Regions from separate parts of the Homo sapiens genome. Here region 2 is linked to region 1. The links are contacts of gene promoters, found by promoter capture Hi-C in blood cells and fetal thymus (Javierre and others, 2016). All regions are on one chromosome and are shown on one strand. Each heading gives the region's core, a stretch centred on a gene start or on the middle of the fragment in contact. The rest is flanking DNA. Distances are from core to core; before and after follow the strand shown. Region 1 holds the start of AGO3 (argonaute RISC catalytic component 3). Region 2 overlaps AGO3 (argonaute RISC catalytic component 3).

Region 1 (4,600 bases), core at 2,031-4,530:
TATTCACTTTTGCAAGACTGTATAAAACTTCCACCAAACATCAAACAATTTGCATGTCATTAATTTAAGGTAAAAGTAAATGTTTTTCTTCCATTATAAAGTGTAGTTCCTCTGTCCTAAACGGTAGTCTAACATTACCTGAAAACATAGACTAGAATAGTATGGACCTAAAAAATGAGTACTCAGGAGAAGTAACATCATCAAGCATTTCTGCAGCTCCCTATTCCCACTTTATTTAGAACTGAAACATAACCTATACTCTTAGTTCAGCAGTAATTAGACCATAAAAAACGGTGTTTCATCAGATGTTCCCCAACTAAAGAGTCACAGACACAGATGTTAAACTGTTGATTAATTTTTAACTAATTTCACCTTTTTTTTTGTTAAATCAAAGTTCTGATGGTACTAAATCAGTAGATTGCACAAGATATCCTTAAAAAGCATTTAAAATATTTCATATGAAAGAACAAATACTAACTTATATGGTATTTGTGTTCGAGGTTCCCTAATGTAAACAAATTTAACAGTTTTCTGTGTATCCACCGAGCAACTAGAATTTAAAATATCCTATCACAAGATGATTCCTGAGAATCTCCACAAAAAAGAAAAACTTATGGCAGAATTGGAAAGCCAAGATTCAATACTGAGTCAATAGACTTTTTGAGAACATTTATACTAAAATTTTAAAATCAAAATACGTGTCAAATGATGATTTTTTTTTTTTTTTTTTTTTTTTTTTTTTTTGAGACAGGGTCTTGCTCCGTCACCCAGGCTGGAGTTAGTGGCGCGATCATAGCTCACTGCAATCTCTGCCTTCTGGGCTCAATCCATTCTCCTGCCTCAGCCTCCCAAGTAGCTAGGACTGGAGACATGTGCCACAATTCTCGGCTAAGTTTTCTGTTTTTTGTAGAGGCAGGTCTCACTATGTTACCTAGGCTGGTCTCCAACTGCTGGGCTCAAGCGATCATCCTTCCTCAGCCTCCCAAAGTGCTGAGATTACAGGCATGAACCACCACACCCAGCCTAAATTATGGATTTAAAATTTAGTTGCACAGCTATGCTTTCAACTTAAAGCTAAGCATACCAATTATATACAAGTCTCAGGAATAATGAAAATTTTGTTTCTGATGACAATCTTGAGCCAAAGTATAGCTTATCTTCATTATTAGGCTACATTCAATCATGTATAAACTGTACTGAAGAAAAAACTTTACTTTTCAAGAGACCCAGGCATATAGTTGATAATCTAACTACACACTTCCCCAAATGTGAAGACAGCTAAATGGGTATCCATTTCAGCAATGGGACACCCAAAAAAGAAGAGGTAAAATGTATTTTCTGAGCTGTACTTGGCTTAGTTGTACCAGTTGACTAGGTGGTTTGATGTAACAAATGTTTTCTAAGACATTTCCCATATATATGGGCACAATATCATATGAAAAACCCTAAGGAGAAAAAGAAAAAACTTTAAAAACTTTTTTGAAATATCTTTAAAAGTTTTGGGATGATTAATAAAGGGTCTGACCTTCATGACTTGTTTTCCAGACTTGACAACAGGACAGTTATGTACAAAGATCACCTATGGTCCCAAATAATCACATCTCCTGTACAGTAAAACAGTAGTATGGTAATTTTTTTAAAAGGGCAGGACAGTTTCAGAAATACACAAATCAAAACTGAATAAGAGTCGAAATCTTTTCACAATCCAGACAGACCTTTTAAGACGATATGGGGGAAAGCGAAACAATGGAGCAGGAAAAAGAGATATGGTCTAAATTGATTAGAGAAACTTCCATGTAACAAAATTTGTAAAAAAAAAAAAAAAAAATTTGTAACTCTCTCCCCATCTCATCTCCCCAGTTTGAGTGCTTTTTTGCAACCATTTGACACGTAATCTATTCAACAAAGTTCTTAGCTATCGTTATGTCACTGGTTTCTTTTACGTAAGTTTTTCTTATATCAAATTGGCAAAAAGAGATATGGAATTCAGGAACTTGTAACACCATTAGTAACAAGACAGCCCCGCAAATATTTTGAAAATTAATTTACGAACTTGTGATCGTCTGAAGCATACTTTCAAATTTAATAAGCCAAGCATGATCATTTGTTAGGCAAACCGTTATGCAACACCTTTCTGTCCCTGAATTAATTACTTTAGAACCATAAACAATACTTTTCCTTTTTTAAGGACAAGTACTATCCATGTTGCAATTTTCTCTTAAGACTGCAAAACTGCTGCTCTTGCCCCCAGAGATAAAGCAGTTTTCTTAAATTCCAAATTTCCAGGAATATGACAACTACTTCTCTAAGGAATAGAGAATGAAAAAAAATATACTGTCAGCAATTTTAAGAACCACCTCCTCGTATAAGCAGGGATCCAGGCTGCTATGACATTTCCAAGCTCCTCAGAAACTATCTACCATGCTGCCACAAACAACAGAAAAGAACTCGAGGGTAGGAGCAATGCCATGTTGAATTTAACGTTGCACCAACACCTCCTTCGAACTTAATCTGAAGTTATCCGTTATCTCAGCCTATCTTCACAACTATCCTAAGAGGTAGGTAAGGGAGCTGGCTGGCTGCCCAGCCTCTACGGAACACACAACCTGGCTAAAGGACACGCACTCCAACTAGACAATGGCAAACCATTCTAAAGTCTAGAAGAAGGGTACTCCAGCAAAGAGTAATGCCGCCTAGATAACCCCAAACTTAAATCCTCCAAGCGTTTCCCCGCCTCGCAGTTTCGCCGACTCAGGGGCCCCCGGGGAACTGGGGCTGGGCTGCGGGGAGGTCGCGGAGGAGCAGGGCGAGGGGCGGGAGACCGAGCGATGCCCGCCCGACGCTCACCTCGCGCACCTGGGCCGGGCGGGAGGAGCAGGGATGCTCAGAGGACAGTAGCTGGGTGACATCCCCTACCTGGCCCAGCTACTCTGACTCACCTGCGGAGCCGATTTCCATTCATGGAGCTGGGGGGAGTGCTTCGAGGGAGAACGGAGCCCGCCACTGGCGGCAAGGAGGCGGCCCGGGGGGCGACGCGGCGCGACGCGACGGGCACTCTCACTCGGCCCCGAGGCGGGGGCGGCGACGGCTTCCCCTGAGCAACCGCACTCCGAAAGCTCTGGGCCGGAAGAGTCGCGGACGGAAAACGGCACAGGACTAGGCGAGAGGAAGGGGAGATGTGAGGCGCGGACAGAGGGGAGTCCCGTCCGGAAGTTGCATCGCCCGCGGCCGCCGACGCTCCCACCGCTCCTCCACGACTGCGGGCCGCCGCCGCCGACCTGCCCGGGGCCGCCCCGGAAGCTCGCCGGCGTCAGTTCCGCTGCCTGGCTTGCCCGGCGTCCTCGCCTCGCCTCTGGGCCCCGAGCCGTGCCGGAGCGACGTCGGGGCAGGAGCGGCCGGCGCGGAGGACGCCGGGGAGGTGTCCGGGAGCCGGGCCACATGCGGCGGGCTCGGCCGTACCCCGCCGGGCCGTGCCGGCCGGAGACAACGCGGAGGGGCAGGACTACTCGCGCCGCACGAGTGGGGGCGGTGCCTGTCTGCGACGACGTCGCGGCTGGCGGCGGGGCTTACCTGAGGAGTAGCCTACCTGGAGCCGGCGGGTGAAGGACCCCGAACTGCCGCGGAGGCCCCGAGCCGAGCCCGCTGGGGTAGGGCCACCCTCCTTCCTGAGCCCCCGCCACGCCCAGTCCGATCCACCCCACGCGCCGCCTCCTCACAGGCGGTCAAGTGACCACCGCAATTGACCTAAGTCCTAGGCTGCTTTAACGACCATTTTTAGGAAAAAAAAAATGTATTATAGTTTGGAAAAGATGACTAACAAACAGGACACTACACAAACATCAGATCGAGTAATTTCCATGTTTAAAACTCTTTAATAGCGCCTCGTCACACTTGAAAACCCAAACTCCTTTCCAGGGTGAAAACGCACGGCGTAAATGGGCCCCGCCTGTGCTACAGCTATACTGGTTGGCTTCCAATTCTCCCAACGGGCCAACCGCTGCTTTTTTCTGACTTGGAGCTTCTCTGCTTTTGGTTCCCTTGGCCAGGAACCCTCTCTCTCTTCTCCACCCTCCCCTTACGCCCTACCCCACAGCTTTTTTTTGCGTCTCAACGAAAGACATCTGAGACGCCTTTTCCGGACCACCCATCTATGGTGGGGCACCTGTTAGTCTACTACAGTATTGCCTTGGTAGCCCTTTGCCCAGTCTGTTATTTATTTACTACTTGTGTGCCCCCCACCTCACTTGAATGTCAGGCAAATATTAGGTCCTTAATAAATATTTGTTGCCTTAATGAAACATACTATTTTATTCAGGCTGAGGAATCATTCATAATTTCTCCCCATGTCCCTATGCTTCAGTAATACGGTTTTTTTTAATCAAAATAATTTTTTAAAGAGGAAAAGGAGAAAGAATATCCTATCTTCAGTTCCCCTCACTGTGGGACTTTGGATCAGTCACTTGATCTCTCTGGGCTTCAATTTTCTTATCTGAAAAATTGAGAGAACAGCATGTACCTTACACAGTTTGTAAGGTTAGGTAATATACATAAAGCACAGAGAAAATCCTCCCCAAATGTTAGTGAATAACACAAGTATTTA
Region 2 (4,600 bases), core at 1,212-3,711, 130 kb before region 1:
GCCTGAGCCCAGGAGTTTGAAGTTATAGTGAACTATGATAGTGCCACAAAACAAAACAAATAATCTTGACCTATTCACTAGGAAACTGGACTGTCTATATATAATTGAACTTAATATTCTATAATCATGCTTTTTGCTGCCTTCCAATTTATTCACATTCATAAATTATTACTATTTAAATTTTTAATTAGCTGAAGTACTCTATTAATCAGTCTTTATACCTGGCTCTCCCTAGCCACTTAAACTCTGATTTCTTCATTGATACTCAGGGATTCAATCAACTTTAGAAGTATGCTAGGGAAAAGATCAGGGTAGCAAATCTTCCATATAACAAATTATGGGGGAAAAGTTTCATTTCAAAGTCAATTCAATGAATTTTGAATCATTTGCTATTTGTTTTCCAGGCCTACAAAAATGGTATCTTAATCCTAATGCTGAAAAATGTGACCATTTAAGCAGTTTCAATGTGCTTAAATTTAAAAAAAAAAGGCATGTAACAATTATTTATTTGACAGGTTTCCCCAAAACTGTAGTCAGGTAAAATAAATCCAATCTGTTATGTTAGTTTGCTACTAAAGGGGAAAAAAAGGATCAAACTTACAGGAAAGCCCCACCTCCCCTCCACATGTAGAAATCTGTCTAAAGACTGTCTTTAATGCCCACTATATAAACAACATTAAATATTCTAAGTTACAAAATAGTGTTAATGGTTTATTGGTAAAAATCCAAACTCTAGAGTTTATGGAATTCGTAGTTTGGTTGGTATATTAACACTCCATCTTAATCTTTGCTGCTATTACAAAGAATGAGGAAAGCTAGAAATATCTATAAAAATAAAATACCTTAAAACCGACAAGCAAAATATAAAAGTTGCATACAAATTGCCAATAAATATAAACATCACAATAGAAAAATTAATCTTAACAAAAATAAACTCATAATTGCTATTAAGACATTATAAAAACAAAAAAGTTTAATGTGCATGTATATTTGCAAACAGACACAGTACACTCCAAACAATATAATTTTACTATCATTATTATATAATGCAGCATACAAGGTTACTGAGGTGTGGTATTTTTTGTTGTTGTTGTTGTTTGCTTTTAGTCTTCTTTTCTGGAAGAATGCTCACCAAATTCACAGGAAAGAAGTGCCTAGGTGATCATTTACTGCTATTTACTGCTTCCTGGTATGGAGCAAAATTGCCCTCTGGTAGGTAACTACATTTCTAATTAGTATGAAAGGTTCTACTATTTTCCTTTCTTTTGCTTATTTCCCCTTAAGCACAATTTGCAGACCCTACTTCTATTTAACTGATCATACCCTTTTAAATGCCTTGTCATCATTTTTCATAGTTCCTGCATCCTAGAAAAAATAAAAAATCATTTAAAATATTCCTTGGTGTCTAGAAAAGAAAATTTCTCTAACAATAGAGATTATCATTTTGCTTTCTCACTTAAGCTGATCTGAATGATGATTTGGTACTGCCTTTATGAGCAGTCCTCCTTAATAATGACTAATTAGGGCCGGGTGTGGTGGTGCATGCCTGTAATCCCAGCTACTTGGGAGGCTGAGGCACGAGAATCACTTGAACCCGGGAGGCGGAGTTTGCAGTAAGCTGAGATTGAGCCACTGCACTCCAGCCTAGGTGACAGAGCAAGACTTTGTCTCAAAAAAAAAAAAAAAAAAAAAGATTAATTAGAAAATGTTGCCTATGATTCCAGGCAAGTTACATTTCCCTTTGGACATTGGTACTATACCCATAATCTTGTTAAAAAGTTAAGTAGGTTTGCTGTTTTATGTGCATTATGGATTTCCTCCAACACAGTTGGGAATTAAAAGAGGTAATTCTACTAAATATTTTGTTTTCAAATTTACAAAATAAATTTGGTGAGCATTTACCTAGATACTTTACTGCATAAAAGCTTTCCTTGGTTCCCTTGGACGAGATTCAAGACAACAACTAACATTATTTTTATGAAACTGTCACACTCTTGGAGTTCTAAAATAATTTATCTTTAAAATTCTTAGCTTCGTGCTACTTGAAAAATAAAAATCTACAGCACCATCTTCTGAAAAGGCACTTTCTAAGAACCGCCTTGCTTTAAAAAATGATTAAAAAATTTAACTCAAGAGTCTACGCCCTGACAAACGTCTTTGCTTTACTGAGACCCTAACATAGATACATTAGATTCTGGTTACCTTAGAAATTAGTCTAAAAAAGGAAGGGACCCCGATGGCTGGATAGGTGATTTGACAGGATTCTAATTTTGTCACACCATTTACCTGATACTTCAACAGGGTTTCTCACTGGTAAATCTCAACCCTCTATATTGAATTTACCATCCTTCTATCTTTAATTCAAATTAAAATCTTTAACTTCCATATTTTAAGAACAAAAGATTCTTGAGATTTAATCAATGATGTAAACATCTGGAGTACTAGTTTTGATGGGTAAAGTAATATAAATTTCAATGAGTAGTAGGTAATATTAGCACAAGCCTTGACCATTATACCTTAGTTTAAAAAATTATGTTGACTGACATGGAAAATTATAAACTTAAATGTACCATTTTAAAAGTAGGAAAAAAGTCAAAATAATTTTTCCCTTTGTGTGTGTGTGTGAGATTATATATATACACACTCATACATATACACACACACACACTCCCCCTCCCTGCTTCCTGGGACTCAGCTTGGCTTTCACTAATCACAGTGTCATTTCTAACACTGCAACGGATCAAGAATGTTCTTAGTATAAGCAGGACTTTTTTAAAAAGATTTTTTGGAGAAAATTCTCACTTTCTGATTTCTGTGCTGACTGACTTACCTACTCTTGGCTGATTTTTTGACTCCTATAGAATCACAAAAGTGCTTTTCTATGATCAAATATGAGGACTGAAATAGGAAAACAAGAGTTCTAAATTAGGGTTATACTGCTACACAGGAAGGCGTTACTTGATGTCAAACCTCCCAACAATTCTTACTGAAGCTTTAAGACATTTATGAATTCTCAAAAAGAATGAAAATAATGAATACTTCATATGGATAAAGCCAAAATAAAGACGCCACACTAATGATATTTTTGCAGCTTGACTAACTAATAAAAGGTAATTTAAGTAGCAAGTTACTGTTAAGGGCAACCTGCCTGTTCAACAGAAGAACATCTAAGAGGATAAGCTAAGCAAACATTTAACTCAGGTTTAATGATACTGAATGAAAATTTTGCAGAGTTGTCAGTTAAACTTCTTGGTAAAAATATTAAAATCAAGTTTGAAATAGGAAGACTGCAACATATTCTAGCTGTATCGAAGTCGTTTGCTTCTTGAATTTCATAAAAATCACTGCCCTTGGCAAATTCATGTAGGGCTCTAAACAGATCCATCAAGTTCCTTGAGTCACAAACGGTCTCTAATTCCTGGTCTGCAATCCATCTAAATACTTCGGATCCATCACTGGCATGCTTAGCGCTCACCCTTTCCTTGAACACAGAGATCCGCTGCCAGTCATTCCTGCTGAAGGGCAAGTCAGGTTTTATTTCCCTAGACATGCCTTCAGTCTTTCATGACTCTGTCAGAAGGCCTATCCTCCTAAAATCCATTAGAGAATACACAAGCAAACACTAGGCAGTGGTGGGCTGTGGAGAAGCTAGCTTGGAAACTGGTCTAGATCTTTAGAAGGCTGAGAATCCCTGTGCTGGAAAGCAGAGATGCCTCTATCAAGTGCCTTCCAAAACACTCAGTAATTCCTACTAGAATCCCTGCTAGACTCTCTTCTAGGAATAGAAATATATTAATAGGTTATAAACAGGGATTTCCCTTAGAATGATAGTTTTTCCAAGAAACTTGTTAGAAGATCACTATTAAGAAAAAGAAAGGGAATCTAATATTTCTGTTGAAATGTGCCAAAAAACCAGTACTGAAGAGGCTGAGGTACCCTTTTTCAAACTGTAAAAGTCAAAATCTACATTTCTAAAACAAAGAATATCCTGATATTAAATTGAAACTAAAATGGCAGCACCCTTTGTTACTTTGATATTCCGTGTCCTTACTCTTAGGAAAAAAAAGGGTCTAACACTAGCCTTGAATCCTGCTTATCTCCTTACTGTTTAGTGCAGTAACTGTCAGAATCTACTTAAATAAATATAGCAGCTACAATATTGTAAGTGTATGGTCCTCCATGCCAGTAACCTGATACTGTGATATAATACATGTATCAGCACTTTATGTAGACACATTAACCATCAAGAATATACATTAAACTCCCAACTCTTCTTCATATGAAAATCAATTATCTAGTTGCCAGACTGATATTTTACAGTCAGTCTCGTAAGATACATCACAGAAAAAAGAAGACCAAAATCTAGCATTCATGATATAGTTAGTGAGCAAGGGCAGGAGCAGAAGGGTCACTGTGAATTTCATGTTTAACTTAAAAAAAAAAACTTTTTTAAAATAAAAAAGATTAGAAATTCTACACCAGAAATGCAACAATAAATAGGACAAATTTCAAGAAGCATTTGTCACTTAGCCTTTTATCTTAAAATTCTAAGCACAAGTTTTCTTGTAATTAAGAACCAATGGTAATTAATATACCAATT

Evidence for each region. Contacts are between HindIII fragments. The CHiCAGO score rates a contact against its expected background, and 5 or more counts as called.
Region 2: a contact is called between a fragment that was not itself captured here and the fragment with the promoter of AGO3 in region 1, in 2 of 17 cell types (M1 macrophages and M0 macrophages). The highest score is 5.8, in M1 macrophages.

Annotation. Positions count from the first base shown.
Region 1 is chr1:35,929,785-35,934,384 of GRCh38, reverse strand. AGO3 (argonaute RISC catalytic component 3) reads right to left here and starts at 3,280. Exons shown (of 19, transcript NM_024852.4): 1 at 2,940-3,280. The coding sequence starts at 2,958. AGO1 (argonaute RISC component 1) reads right to left here. Exons shown (of 19, transcript NM_012199.5): 19 at 3,853-4,600. RefSeq lists enhancers at 2,093-2,615, 2,616-3,140, 3,141-3,664 and silencers at 2,778-3,117, 3,128-3,637. The HindIII fragment of the contact is 14,155 bases long and covers 1-4,600 here.
Region 2 is chr1:36,059,252-36,063,851 of GRCh38, reverse strand. It overlaps AGO3 (argonaute RISC catalytic component 3), which reads right to left. Exons shown (of 19, transcript NM_024852.4): 19 at 1-4,600. Among named protein-coding and RNA genes, the nearest start is that of TEKT2, 23 kb to the left of the region's middle. The HindIII fragment of the contact is 1,067 bases long and covers 1,928-2,994 here.